2 separate regions of the Homo sapiens genome follow, and region 2 is linked to region 1. The links are contacts of gene promoters, found by promoter capture Hi-C in human tissues and cell types (Jung and others, 2019). All regions are on one chromosome and are shown on one strand. Each heading gives the region's core, a stretch centred on a gene start or on the middle of the fragment in contact. The rest is flanking DNA. Distances are from core to core; before and after follow the strand shown. Region 1 holds the start of CCDC136 (coiled-coil domain containing 136). Region 2 overlaps CALU (calumenin).

What was found. The method cuts DNA at HindIII sites, captures the fragments that hold promoters and counts their contacts. A contact is called where the count stands out against the background at its distance.
Region 2: a fragment that was not itself captured here is called in contact with the fragment with the promoter of CCDC136 in region 1 in 4 of the 25 tissues and cell types used here (aorta, hippocampus, lymphoblastoid cells and 1 more).

Annotation. Positions count from the first base shown.
Region 1 is chr7:128,787,898-128,795,105 of GRCh38, reverse strand. CCDC136 (coiled-coil domain containing 136) reads right to left here and starts at 3,138. Exons shown (of 18, transcript NM_022742.5): 1 at 2,679-3,138; 2 at 504-758; 3 at 338-412. The coding sequence starts at 2,694. RefSeq lists silencers at 3,755-4,023, 3,562-4,031. The HindIII fragment of the contact is 16,505 bases long and covers 1-7,208 here.
Region 2 is chr7:128,752,968-128,759,949 of GRCh38, reverse strand. It overlaps CALU (calumenin), which reads right to left. Exons shown (of 7, transcript NM_001219.5): 3 at 5,495-5,688; 4 at 913-1,079; 5 at 98-158. Among named protein-coding and RNA genes, the nearest start is that of CALU, 17 kb to the right of the region's middle. The HindIII fragment of the contact is 4,544 bases long and covers 1,271-5,814 here.

The DNA of each region.
Region 1 (7,208 bases), core at 1,889-4,388:
ACTGACCAGGAGAACAAAGGGACAGGGATGCAGTATGAAGGAGGAGGCTGAAGGGGCAAGAGGAAAGAGCCCACCAGGGACAGGAGGTGACAGGGAGGCCAAGAAATGGAAGGGGAGGACAGAAGAGCCAGGTAGATGTGCAAAGAAAGAAAACTGGGGACAGAGGAGGATGGAGAGACAAGGAGAGGAAAAGGGTGAGACTAGTAGAGGAAAATGAGGTGAAATTACTGAATTTGGTTATTTTTATCTGCTGTGCTTCAGTCAAACCCTCAGGAAAAAAGTACTTAGGTGACCACTTGGATGGCCACCTCCCTCCAGTCCAAGTCCTGGGAATTACCTTGGAGCTGCTGGATCTGCTTGGTGAACACCTCTGCCTGCTGGGCGCTGGCTAGCCGTTCATCCTCCAGGAGCCCTGCAGGGAGAGGGGCACCAGTGTCAAGCTCGGATCCAGGGGAGTGCAGAGCCTCTGGGCCCGGGCACTGGGCCCTGGCCCAGGCACTCACCCTGTAGCTCCAAGGAGTCATCCTCATGCTGCCCTGCCAGTTCCCGGGTCTCCTCCAGTTCTGCCACCAGCTGCAGCACCTGAGCCCGCAGCTCCTCCAGCTCTGTCTCCGTGAGGCTCAGTCCCCGGTGCTTGTTGACTGACAGAGAGCCAACACTGCCACCTTTCTGCACTTGTTCTTCTTCTTCTTCCACCTCTTCTTCCTCCTCTTCCTCTTCCTCTTCCTCCTCATAGAGAGCTGGGAGTAACACCTCCCCTAGGAGACACAGCCATCCCACCAAGGAGTCAGCATCAACTTCCTTTCTGCCGTCCTTCCAGGGCCCTCAAACTCACTATGCCAGGGCAGAGATGACATACTAGTGCCACCTGGTGTCCCCCAAGGAGCCCCGGGGCAAGACCTGTACTCAAGATGAGTCCTCAGGTGTGAGAGTCAAGTTGAGAAGCAGCCCCTCCACCTCCCAGGCCCTTCCTGGACCAATGTTGCACTTGGTAGCCTCCTATCACTGCCTGTGGGCAGGCTGGTGCCCGCTCAGCCATGAGACACTTGCACAGGATTACCTGCTTCTTCTAGGCTGGCCTCTGAGTAGCAGGACAAGTAGTCAAGAAAGGAGACAGTGAGCGGATCTTTCGGTCAAATGGGGTAACAGTTACAGTTTGGAGATTTCTTGAAAGTTAAAAAACAAAACAAAACTGACCAGGCATGCTGGCTCATGCCTGTAATCCTAGCACTTTGGGAGGCTGAGGTGGGTGGATTACTTGAGGCCAGGAGTTCCAAACCAGCCCGGTCAACATGGTGAAACCCCTTCTCTACTAAAAATACAAAAAAATTAGCTGGGCGTGGTAGTACACGCCTGTAATCCCAGCTACTTGGGAGGCTAAGGCAGGAGAATCGCTTGAACCTGGGAACTGGAGGTTGCAGTGAGGCGAGATCGAGCCACTGGCACTCCAGCCTGGGCAACAGAGTGAGTCTCCGTCTCAAACAAACAAACAAACAAAAACAACCAAACAAAAACTATCCAGGTGGCTTGTGAAAAATCAGCCTTTCCATAATAAGAAAACATTGCCCGTCAGCAGGTAGAGAAAGAAAATATCTGATTGTAGAGGTTTCATTGGACAAACTCGGGCGCCCTTTCAAATGTATATTATTAAATACCTGTTTGAAATTTTCTACAAGGTCCACCTTGTTTTTCCCTGCTGCATGTCACAAGGTCTCCTCTCCCCTAGCTGAGCCATATGAGGCCCCTCCTACTCTGCTGACCACAAAGTAGATTTCAGGGGAAGTTTTAGGCTGTACTTGTGTGTAAAAGAAAGCCTACCATTTTAATGCATTAAAAAAACTGGGGTTTGGTGCTGGCCCCCAGCCTCTGGTTGTGAGCACCCGCTCCTTTACTGCAACGCAGTCCCTATAAATAGCAAAATGTTGTCTGGATGGTGATTGTTTGCTTTGTTTTAAAATTCTGAATCTCTGGTCTTACTTTATCTAATATCAGCAGCCTTAGGTTCAACTGGGACCCTTCGTGCCATCTGTCCCCCTTAGGGGGAGCAGGTTTGCCCATACTGAATGTGCAACGTGCAACACTTCACAGGAAGTACTGGCAAATGGACCAGCGTCCTTCCAGGGGCCTGGTGTTGGCAGCAACTGCCAAGTCACATGGGTGTGGTGGGGATACACGTGTGTTGGGAGGATGGCCTCACGCGCCCCCTCCTAGGCTCTCTCTTTCAGGCAATAAGGTATCCTAAAGAACCAAAGCCACAGGCTTCCATTCGAAGTTAATGTTGGTGGCCCCAGAAAGACAATTCACATGCCCAGTTCCTTGCTTTTTAAAATAAGAGACAGCTTGGGATCTGGGTCGGCAGGCAGTGAGGACAAACCCCCTGCTGAAAGGCTGCTTCAAAGCTCTGTCCAACAAGGCCTCTTTCTCTGTCTGGCAGCTCCCTCGGGACACATAACCTGGTTAGCTGGGGGGTGATTGGGGTCCCGAAGGGATGCATCCTGAACTTCTGTCAAAGCCTGAGCCCTGGGAAGGGCTGGAGCTCTGAGCTGCAGGAAGAGGGGCTAAGATGAACTGAGGGAAGGGCTGTGTCCTGGCTCAGAGGCCTGGGGGTCAGAGGGAGGAAAGAAGGGAATTAAGGGAGGAGGGGAGGGGAAAGAAAGAAGCCTTTTGGGAAAACTCACCCTCCATAGCTTGCATCCCCCGTCGTTCCAGGGACCCCCAGCGTTGGCCCTTCTTCCTCTCACAGCCCTCGGAAGCCTCATAGGAGCCTAGAGTGGTCACTGTGGGTCCTGAGAGCAGGGAGAAAGGAGGGGCTGGGGGGTGGGGGGCTGGCTGCGGGCTGGGGTGCAGAGGAAAGAAGGGGACATGTCTTCCAGCTCCTCGAGGCTCTGGGATCTGTAATCCCAGTGGAGGTGCCTGACTCACTCTGGCGGCTCTGCGACTCCTCTCTCTCGGCCACCTCTCAGCCCTGCCTCCCAGCCTCCTCAGAACCCGCTGTTCCAGGACCCTCTTGCTTGCACAGAAAGAAAGAGGGGGTGTGCGTATTTAGTCCGGGGGGACAGGGAGGAGAGGGCCAAGACTGAAAGAGGGCGGGAGCCAGTGAAGAAGAGGCTGAAAGGCTGAGGTGGCCTACAGATGGAGGGAGGGAGGAGTGGGGGGCGTGCGGGAAGGGGTAGGGCTGCGACCGCTCCCCTCCCCTCTCCTCCCATTCTCTCGCTGGACCTTGCCCACCCCACCCTCGCCCCGCGCTCAGGAGTCTCCGGGGCTGCAGGAGGTGTAGGGTCTGCAGTCCCGAAGGCTGGAAGCACCGTCGGACTGAAGTGGAGAGACGCGCTGGGGAGGGACCACCAGGCAGGATGCGGCCGGTGCGCGGAAGCCTCAGTCCCAGGCCGGAAGGATGGAGACCGGGCCCCGGTGGAGGCCAGGATGGAGGGAGGAAGACTTTGGGCGGAGAAAGGGGAGCCGCGGAGGCCGGGAGCACCTGGGGGTCTGGAAGGAGGAGGGATGGAGGAGAGAAAGGAGGGGCGGTAGACAGGTGACGGAGGGGCGGCTCTGACCTGGGCCCGGGCAGCTCCAGCCCGCGGCTCCCGCGCCGGCTCCGGCGCCCGCCTCCATGACCGCTCCCGCCGCCGCCTTCCGCCTCCCTGAGCAGAAGCCGCAGCCGCGAGCCCGGGGACCCGAGCCGGGTGCGCAGGGAGGGAGGGAGGGCGGACGAGGGGGCGGGGCCTGGCCGGGCCTCCTGACACCGCCCCCCGCCGCTCGCCGCCGCCCGGAAGCCCTCCCAGCACTCGGGAGCTCCGAGCCCGTGCAGGGGGCGGCGCGGGAGGGTGAGCGCGACCCCGGATACGCCCCAAGGCTCTCCCCTAGAGAGCGCGGGGAGCCGCGGGGCCCGGACAGCGTCAGGAGCTCCTAGGCTTATGGCTGCCCCAAGAGGGAGGAGCGAGATCCCCTGGTTCTGGCGGCGGGTCCCCCCGGGGTCTGCTGTGCCCAGGGACCCTTCTGCACCAGGTGTCAGGGCCCGGTCATGCTCAGCAATGGGGACGGCAAAGGACGAGGTGGGACTGTTTCCTCCAAAAGCGCAGACACGCGCGCCCCTCCTTCCCTCCCTCCCCCGCCCGGCCGGCGCCCCCACCTAGCAGTCCGCGCTGACTCCGGCCCCAGGCCCTGCCCACCCCTGCCCGGTGGCCCCTCGGCAGCCTGGGGGCCGGAGGAGGGAAGTCGAGGCCCGGATGGGCGAACGGCAGGGCCCTGACCTCTCCGCTTTCCGCGACCCCCCACCGAGCCAGGGCCAAGGACCCTCTTAGGAGGAGCCCTCCGGTGGCCCCATCAAGCCTCAGGGCCGGAAGACCCCCTCTCCTCCGCCCTGTCTTCCCTTCCGGTCCCACACCCGGTGGGCTGCGAGCCACGCCCCCACAGTAGCCCGCTCAGAGTGGGCACGACTGATGTTCACTCTCGTGGAAGGGAGATTTGGAAGCCCAGGGGGCTTATTTCACGTCTTCAACCATTCGTTTATTCAGGCTATGACTACTGGGTGCCGGCTCTTGAAGAGGCAGTTCTCACATCTCGGCAGGTCTCGGCAAGGATAGAAGTGGGCACAGTTGGGAACAGGGGCTCCCCAGCACATCCAGGAAATGGCTGGAAGATTCCTAAGCCAGGGACACACGCGGATCCCCTCTCTGGCACATCCACTCACAGGTCGAGGGCTAGTATTGTCTGCGTTCCCCCCGCTGCAGGAAAGGGATCCGGATCCAGACCGCAACAGAGGGTTCTTGAATCTCACGCAAGAAAGAATTCAGGGAGGTCCATAGGATAAACTAAAAGCAAGTTTATTAGGAAAGTAAAGGAATAAAGAATGGCTACTCCATAGACAGAGCAGCCCCAAGGGCTGCTTTTTTTGGTTATTTCTTGATGATATGCTAAACAAGGGGTGGTTTATTCCTGACACCCCCTTTCAGACAATGTAGGGTAACTTTCTGATGTTGCCATGGCATTTGTAAACTGTCATGGCACTGGTGGGAGTGTAACAGTGTGAGGATTACTAGAGGTCACTCTCACTGCCATCTTGGTTTTAGTGGGTTTTGGCCGGCTTCTTTACTGCAAGGTGTTTTATCAGCAAGGTCTTTATGACCTGTGTCTTGTGCCAACCTCCTATCTCATCCTGTGACTTAGAATTCCTTAAACGTCTGGGAATGCAGCCCAGTAGGTCTCAGCCTCATTTTACCCAGCTTCTATTCAAGATGGAGTTGCTCTGGCTCAAATGTCTCTGACATCCCACAGGCTCCCACGTCCACAAGCCATCCCTGTTCCACGGGAAGGAAGCCCTTCTTTGCCTGGACTTCCCCCTCCTTTTCAGCTGGGGGTCACCTCCAGGTGGCCTTCTCTGACTGGCACCCCATCCCTGCCCCACTAGGCGCTTTTGTGGTGCTCGCCCCTATTTGTCTGTAACAGCACCAGGCCCTCCGGGTTGTCCGGGCTCTGCCCAGTTTCCTGAAGGTTAGGGGGATCTTAGTTATCTTTGTATTTCCAGCATCTGACAGAGTTTCTGACACAGGATAAATGAGTTAAAGGTCAATCTCCCAGCTACCCAGTTAATGCCCTGTCTTATCATTTAACATGATTTCATATTTGTGGTGTTAAATGTTGCCTATTAATGATGATGTTGCCCATAAGTCTCTCTCCCTCCCCCAACTCCTTGCTCCTTTTTTCTTCCTCTGCCTCTCTCATTATCTCAGCAGAGAGATGATGAGCAGAGATCAAGAATGTTTTCTTTGCTCCCAGATGACAAGATTCTACTCCAGATCCTGTGGCCAAGGTGACACAGTTGTGGGGAAAGTTGAACAAGCCCACCCAGACCCCTTCTGCAGAGGGTTTACTGCAGACGCCAAGCCTGTCCAGATTTGGGGAGCAGAGCATTTGTCAGGGGTGGTAGAAAGGGGCTGCACTGGGGGCTTGAGGGATGCAGTGCTCTGGGAACTGGCAAAGACTAGTTCTGGAAGCTTACTGGCTGTTCTTTCTGCCCAGCGCAGCTCCTCCTGGTTCTGCCTCCGCCAGCAGGGCCACGTTAGCGGTTGGCCTTGACTGCTGACCTCTTGGTGAATGTAGGGAGGCACAGCAGGGAAATTGTCGATGGTGACATCCAGGGTTCAAGCTCTCCTCAGGGAGCTCTGATCCTGAGTATTAGGACTAATCTCTCCCTGGCTCCTGGCATGCAGGTCACCTTTCACCCTTGATTTGGGAGAACATTTAAGAGAGACCTGAACCAGTCTATTTTCAGGAGCCAAACTTGGTCAAACCCTGGCCAGACCAGTACTGGGTTGAGGGCGGAGGGAGGCAGTTAAAAGGCGGGAGAAAAGAGCTTAAGAGATATGAGGGAGGTGGGCTGTGGTCCAGAAATGCATCTCTGAGGGGCCAGGAGTGGTGGGCATGTCAGCCAGGTGATCAACCTAGGGGGATGATCTGAATTAATCCCTGTAATCCCTGGACTCAGGGCTCAGCCTCCCTCCTAATCCCATCCCAGGAGATCATCCTCTTTGAGGACTGATGTAGCCATTTATCCCCCTTTACCCTTATTTCTAAATGCCTAGATCCTTTCATTAAAAAGAAAAAAAATATGAGTATTTGAAACATGCAGAAAAGTATGGTACAGAGAATAACGTAACAAATAACCATGCACACAGAACTGAAATCCTACAACCAGTCAGATCTTGCCACATTTGATTCAAGGTAGCCCTCTATTTATGGTTTTCCAGTTTTACCTGTATGTATGTTTTACCTTTTATGAATGTGTCTACCAACAATACATAATTGCGACTTGTGTGTTTTAGAAATTTATGTAAATAGTGTTATATTGTACACATTTTTCTGCAAACTTTTTTTGTTTTTTTTTTTTTTTGCATTTATCCATGTTGTTTCATATAGCTCCAGTTTATGAATTTTAACTACTGAAAACTCTTTCATTGCTTGAATTCACTGCAATTTATCCATTTTTCGGCTGATTGACATTTTGACTGTTTCCAGTTTTCCATATTAAAAACAGTGCTGCACTTGACAATTTCATGCATTCTCCTAGGATGGATACCTAGAAGTGGAATTTCTGGGTCATAGAGTAGGTGCATCTTAAACTTCACTAGCCGTTGCCAAATTGCTCTATTGTGTAGTTAGACCAATTTAAACACCACTGACAGTGGCTTTAATTTATCCTCTGGCCCCCA
Region 2 (6,982 bases), core at 2,293-4,792, 36 kb after region 1:
TTGGGATTACAGGCATGAGCCACTGTGCCCAGCCAGCAAATACACCTTTCAAAGCTTCTCAGCTTTTCTAAGAAAAACACTAAAAGCAGAGACTTACCAATATACTCTTCTAGATCAATGAAACCATCAGCATTCTTATCTATATCTTCCATTGTTTCCTAAACAGGAAAGAATAAGAAGAGACTATTAAGTTGGTCTCTGAATTTGCCAGAAGAAAGTAAAGTATCTAGTTTAGGTAAACATTTATTATTCATTAAACACACTTGTACATGTATGTATGTATGTATGTATGTATGCATGTGTGTCTGTATGGTTAAAACCATTTCTAGCCAAGAAATGGTAAAACATGAGCAATTTCCTATGCTTCAATCTAAAATAACTGAGTCTTCCTGACAGAACACTGACACTGCTTAATGACAAACTATCCCATCAAGCCCATGATGATCTACCTGGTAGCCTTAGTCATGCTAAAGTCACACTAACAGGAGATGTGACCAGTGATTATGTGTTTAGCTATAGATAGTCTATGTTGTCAGTAACTGCCTTCTGTGAGAGTTCTTTAGTATCACTGTTATTACTCAATGTCTGACTATTGGTCATGGGATATTTTAAATAATGGGATTTCCCCCCATTCTTACAATATGAAGCTACCAATGAAATGGCAAAATACATTATATGACAGAAGGTATTATCATACTAAACAGAATGCCCAAGGCACCTTGATCAAGGTCACAGAAAAACAGTGACAGACCTTGGATTCTGAATCTGGCCAATACTTATATAGCATATACAGTGATATGCTATATAGCATATATATATATAAGATATGCTATATAAGGCTAAAGGGGAAAGACAGAATAAGCCACAAAAAGAGAAACTGAGTCCCTGTTCAGAATCCTTCATCTCACCCACCTGTACTACTATATCTTTCATGTAGTCATACTCCTCAGGGTGCAGGAAAGCTGTGAACTCCTCCTTGGTGGCAATGAGGTCTCCATCCTTGTCTGCCATTTTAAACCTCCGCTCATCTCTAACCATCATCTGTTTATAGTTAAATCCATCATCAGGATCTGGATCATCTAGAAAACAAAAATTTAGGTCAAATCTTAAAAGACTTTCAGAAAACATGAAAATGTGTGGGGTGGGAAATCAATTTCCAATAAAGATAAAACCATGCAAGGAAGAAATAATTGATGACACAGGTAAAACTGCAGCAGTACAAAGACATTTAGTTTTGGGCTACAGCTCCAGGCATCAGATCTCAGAGTCAGCTCCAAGTTCACATGGAACTCTGGCTCCTGAACTATGTAACTCACTGTTATGCTTCACTATTGGTATTAAGGCTACTAGAAGGCTTGAATTTTCTAGTTACATCTGGAAGGCAGTGGTGGCTCTCAAGTCCCATACTGCCTGAGTTTGAACTCTACCATTTTCTAGCTGTTTGGCCTGTGTCTTGGTCTCTTTTATCTGTAAAATGGAGCTAGCAATGGTGCCGGCTTCATAGGATTGTTGTAAGGTTTAAATGAGAAAATATATCTAAGTGCTTAGAACAATGCCTGGCACATAGTTGGCTTTCAACAAATGTCAGTTATTGCTACTTTTATTAAACATTAGGATCTCATTAAAAAGATAGAAATCAAAGGCCTTCTACCTCACATAATGGACACTTGGATTCAAGCAATAGAATGCCACCACTTTGAAGGTCACATTCTGTTTTTTTTCAGTCAACGCAGAAATCTACCAAGAGTGACAGGTATTGTTCATCCCCATTTACGTAAAATTCTAGAAAATGCAAACTAACTTAGAGTCACAGAAAACAGATGAGTGATTGCCTAGGGACGGGGGAATGGCGAGAATGAGAAGGATTACCAAGGGACATGAGGAAATGTTGGGGGGGTAATGGATATGCTCATTATCGTGATTGCAGTGGTGGTTTCACTGGTAAATACATACGTCAAAACTCATCAATTATGCACTTAAATACATACAGTTCACTTTATGTCAATAATAACTTGACAAAGGTATACAAAAAAAAAAACCCTTAGATTACAACCAAATTGAATTTGGAACTACCCATCTGTTATGACATCGAGCTACACAAGCAGCAGTTATCTAGTCTCTATATAAGAATATAGAAAAGTGAAATTTAGTTTTTTAAGCTGAAAAAATGTGGCGTTAACTGCAGAAAATAAAATTCTTTTTCAATCTGCGTTCCTGTATAAACCAAATTAAGATAACAGACATGAAGATATTTTAAAAAGTAAAAGACACCACATTAATGGTAAGAAATTATTGTTCCTGCAACATATTGATTACATAAAAAGGATATGACACTGCTTTTATAAAAAAGACCCACAGGGCCCCTTTAAGAATAACATCATTACTGCTGACCTTTGAGATTGTTCAGTCTTTCCATACTTTAAGCACAGTTTAAAGAAACAAAAACAAAACTACTGTACTATTTTGAGAGTTGAGCATTTTGAAGCTTCATTTTTTATTGAGTGTCAAAAATTCAGTCAGACAGCTTAACGAGTCATAAGGCTTTGGGATCCTGTGTACACACACACACACACACACACACACACACACACTCAAAGCCATAATAGGTTGAGATGGAGAACGTAAGGCAAACAAGCCTTTCTCAGATACTAAAGTGTCTCTTCTAAACAAGGTTTCAGGACTATGTAACATAAATAAGAAACATAACAAGACAACTTATACTTTAAGACTAGATTCTTACATAAGTGCTCTCCTCCCCTCCTTGGGGTAAAAGGTAAAAATGGTGACTGGACTCAAATAGCCTAATAGCAACATGCACATATATATATAAGGAGGGAAACAGGAAGATACAATTTTTTTTTTTTTTAATTTATAGTCAGGTCCTTGTTCTGTGTGGCCCAGGCTGGAGTGCAATGCAATCATAGCTCAATGCAGTCTTGGACTCTGGGGCTCAAGCAATCCTCCTGCTTCGGCCTCCCAAGTAGCTAGGACTACTGACAAGTATTACCACTCCTGGCTAATTTTTAATATTTTTTTTGTAAAGACGGGGTCTGGCTTTGTTGCCCTGGCTGGTCGCGAATTCCCGGACTCAAGCAACCTTTCTGCCTCGGCCTCCCAAAATGCTAGGATTATAGGCATAAGCCACTGTGCCTGTCCAAAACTTTATTTTTAATGACAAAACCTATTTTCCTATAGCTCTGCTTGGAATGCTGTATTTATCCTAAGCACCAGTTTTGGCCCTAGCTGGCCTGTATACAGCTTTAGGTAGGCTCTTGATCTAGTTTTGCTATAGGCAGGGTAGATCTCAGTATTTCATATTTTCCTTGTGGCAGAGACAGTGTTAACCTTTCTCTCATGGATAGCGGATTCATTGAGACAGATTTTAACTAAGAGCTATGATGATTTATACCTGAACTCCAAATTGAATCAAGAACACACAGTAACAAAAACTCCTCACTTCTCTAAGCCGACTCATGACCCCCTCAGTGCTGTCCACCCTCATGCCTCTGGGGAAAGATGCCTTATAAAGACATTGCTTCCCAGCCAGTGCTTCAGCTTATGCAGTCTCAGGCAGCAGAAATACCCATTACGTTGAATCATCTGCCTTGTGAGGCAACAGAGCTCTCAACAGATTTTTATGCACATAATCATACACAGCACCGAAGAATCATTCTGGGCAGCAAGTGAGTGCCTAGGTCGGAGCTGAGATTTATTTACACACCATTTTGTTTAGATCACCAATAGCCTACTCTTTGCTTTGTATTTATCATTAATTCCAAATAAATCAGGAAGGTGTTGGGTCTCAGCCAGAGCAAGAAGCAGGATGCCTCTCCATCTGTGCTGACTGTTTAATACATGTGTTCTTAATTGGGTGAAGGATATGTTTGGTTCTTGGCTAAGTGTCAAGCATTGAGAGAGAGTGCCACTTTAGTCTTAGGAATGAGAACAAGCCTGACACAGAAATAAAAGTCTCTTCACCAGAAATGCATGCAGTCCTGTAATTAATGCAGACAGCTGGCTATCTGTGGGGAAACAGATCCATTATACACTCACTGTTAGTCAGTGGCGGAGAACGCTTGCTTTAACCCAGAAGGTTGCCTAATTTCCAGGATTAAAATGGAGAAAGTACCATTTATATTCATTTATATTAATACAATTCTTGTCTTAAACTGTAACCATGTACAACAGAGGAATTTCACAAATAAAAACACCCTGGATCATCAACTCAATAAGACTCACTGCCTAGTATTCAGCAGCAGGCAAGTGTTACAAGTAAAAGAAAATTACTAACAGGTGGCCCAAGCATACAAGCTATCAAATCAACAAAAAGCAATCAAATTAACATTTATTTGCCTTAAAGCACTTGCAAAGCAGGCTGATAAACTCATGTGCCAGAGAAAACAAATGGGAAATTTTCATTTCCAAACTTCAGTAAGCAGACATACTGAAATAGTTAAATTTTATTAAGGAAAACTATTTTATTAAGACTTCTCACCAGTTATAAAGAAATCTAATTTGGTTTGAATTTTAGGTCCAACACTTTACTGGGACCATGTCAAGAAACATCTCAAAGCCCCTTGCTTTGCACTGTTGGAAGTATGTAGCCTCATAGCCTCTTTTTTTTTTTTTTTTTTTTTTTTGGACAGAGCTCGCTCTGTCCCCAAGGCTGGTGTGCAGCAGTGCAATCATGGCTCGCAGCTGCCTCAACCTCCTGGGCTTAAGTGATCCTCCCACCTTAGCCTCCTGAGTATCTAGGACAGGTGTGTGCCACCATGCTTGGCTAATTTAAATTTTTTTTTTTTTTTTTGGTAGAGACAGGGTGTCCCTATGTTGCCCAGATTGGTCTCAAACTCCTGGGCCCAGGCAATCCTCCTGCCTCAGCATCCCAAAGTGCTTATAGGCGTGAGCTATCGGCACCCAGCCCAATGTATTCTTTTAAATGAAATCTACTCCAAAAATTGTCTCTATGAGGGATGACATAAAGAAAAAATGGTAAAATATATGTAAAATGCTAAAAATGTAGAAGATACCAGACTTCCAGACTTCAGAAAACAAAAATTAAACAAATTTAAAAATACATAATATACAAATTTAAAATTAATAAAGGGAATCAGCTTAGCACTGAATTGAACTATTTAAGATAAGCTTCCTTTCCTTTACTGTGTGACCCATTTGTTTCTTTGACTCAAGACCACGGTCCCTGCCAGGCTGACATCTTGCCCCTTACCCAGGTAAGTGCCATAAGTCACGTTTCTGTACTCATCCCAGGAGATTAAGCCGTCTTGATTCATATCAAACTCCTGCCATTGGTTTTCAACATTGTCATATATGTATTTCTTCTGGGCGTGCTTAATCCAGGATTTCAGCTCCCCCTCCGTCACAAACCCATCTTTATCCGCGTCTATTTTATCTACAATCATTCTACAAGACAAAACAGTTACGTTTCAAGGTGCCAGCTCCACAAGGCTTTTTCCCCCAGACAGTAGGGACCTACCTAAAACGTAGCCGTAGGTGGCATTTTTATACTCCTCCCAGGAAACGAGGCCGTCCTCATTGAGGTCATGCCCCTTCCACTGTCGCTCTACATCCTCGTAAATCCAGCGCTTTTGTGCAAATTTAATCCAGTCTTTGAGCTCATCCACAGTGACAAACCCGTCCTTGTCGCCATCTATTTTACTTACAATCTTTCTGTAGAAAATGCAGAGAAATCCAGCAAAAGGTTAAAAAGACACAGAACTCTGGACTTAGCCAGGTGTGTGCCCAGGGCTAATGCACAGAAATAAAAAATTGTCTCCAAAACAAAACTGCCAGGCCAGCAACTGAAAAAAATGGTCCATTACTGGTCTGTAATAAGCCACGTGAATAAGGTCAACACAGTCATGGCTGGTGCACTTGGATCCAAAAGCAAACTCAGCCTATCTCTTTGGAGGTAGATTTCAGCCTATGGTTAGAATTCAGGAGTGAATATCCATTCCTATCCAAGTTCTCCACTCTTTGCATCAAACAACATGTAAAACTTTGTTTTTCCTTGTTTTCATTTTTATTTTCTCTAGCGAAGATGTGGCTGAACTTTATTTTTCTTTATTGCTTACAGAAGAGAAACTCCAATTCTTGGTAAATAATCATGGTTTTCTAAAAATTCAAAATAGTTACATCAGACTTCAAAAATTTAGCTGATTTTAGAAAAAGTAACACTTTTGATAAAAATACAAAGATATCAGAAAAGTTCTGGGATCATTTATATCTCAAGGCAAGATTATTTTTAAAAAACAGATAAAAAGACAGGAAGATGCTTGTCTAAAAAATGGCTAGCAGCTTTTAAATACTGTGTTGAATTGGATTTTTACATGAAAACAGAGAACTCTGAGGAAATGATGTGGTAAGAATGTATATCTGATTATAAGAATGTTAATAAGCTGAAAGGGTTAGTATGTAGATTATAAAGCAAAACCACAAAGCTAAAGAATCAGTGGCTTTATGAAGCTTTATAAGTGTCTTTCTTCCAGATCTGTCATCTTATGGATTTAAAAATATGTCCATGATATGAAAACTTCTGTTTAAAGGTGCAATCACTTAACTATAGGGGCAAAGTCATCCTATGTAATGTCACCCAAGTAAGCAGCCCAGTTTGGAATATGAAGTTGAAGTCAAAACTTCCAACAGAAGAGAAATCTTGGTATAGTCCTATGCTCTATTATTTGCAGGATTGAAAAGATTGTCACTTGGTAGCAAATAATGTCTTTCCCCAGCTTGTGTTCATTTCATGAATACAACATAGGAAAGTGATCAGAATTGAAAAGTACTAGTGACTCTAAGAAAAGAGACTCATTTTGATACAGATCAGGTGTTAGATACAACTATTACTTAAATCCTGTAAGTAACTAGCATTTTCCTTCAGAGAATGTGTAATCTTGCTCTAAAATGTTAACAGGAAAGGTAAACCAGTAAGAAGTTATCTCTGGCCTGGTACGGTGGCTCACGC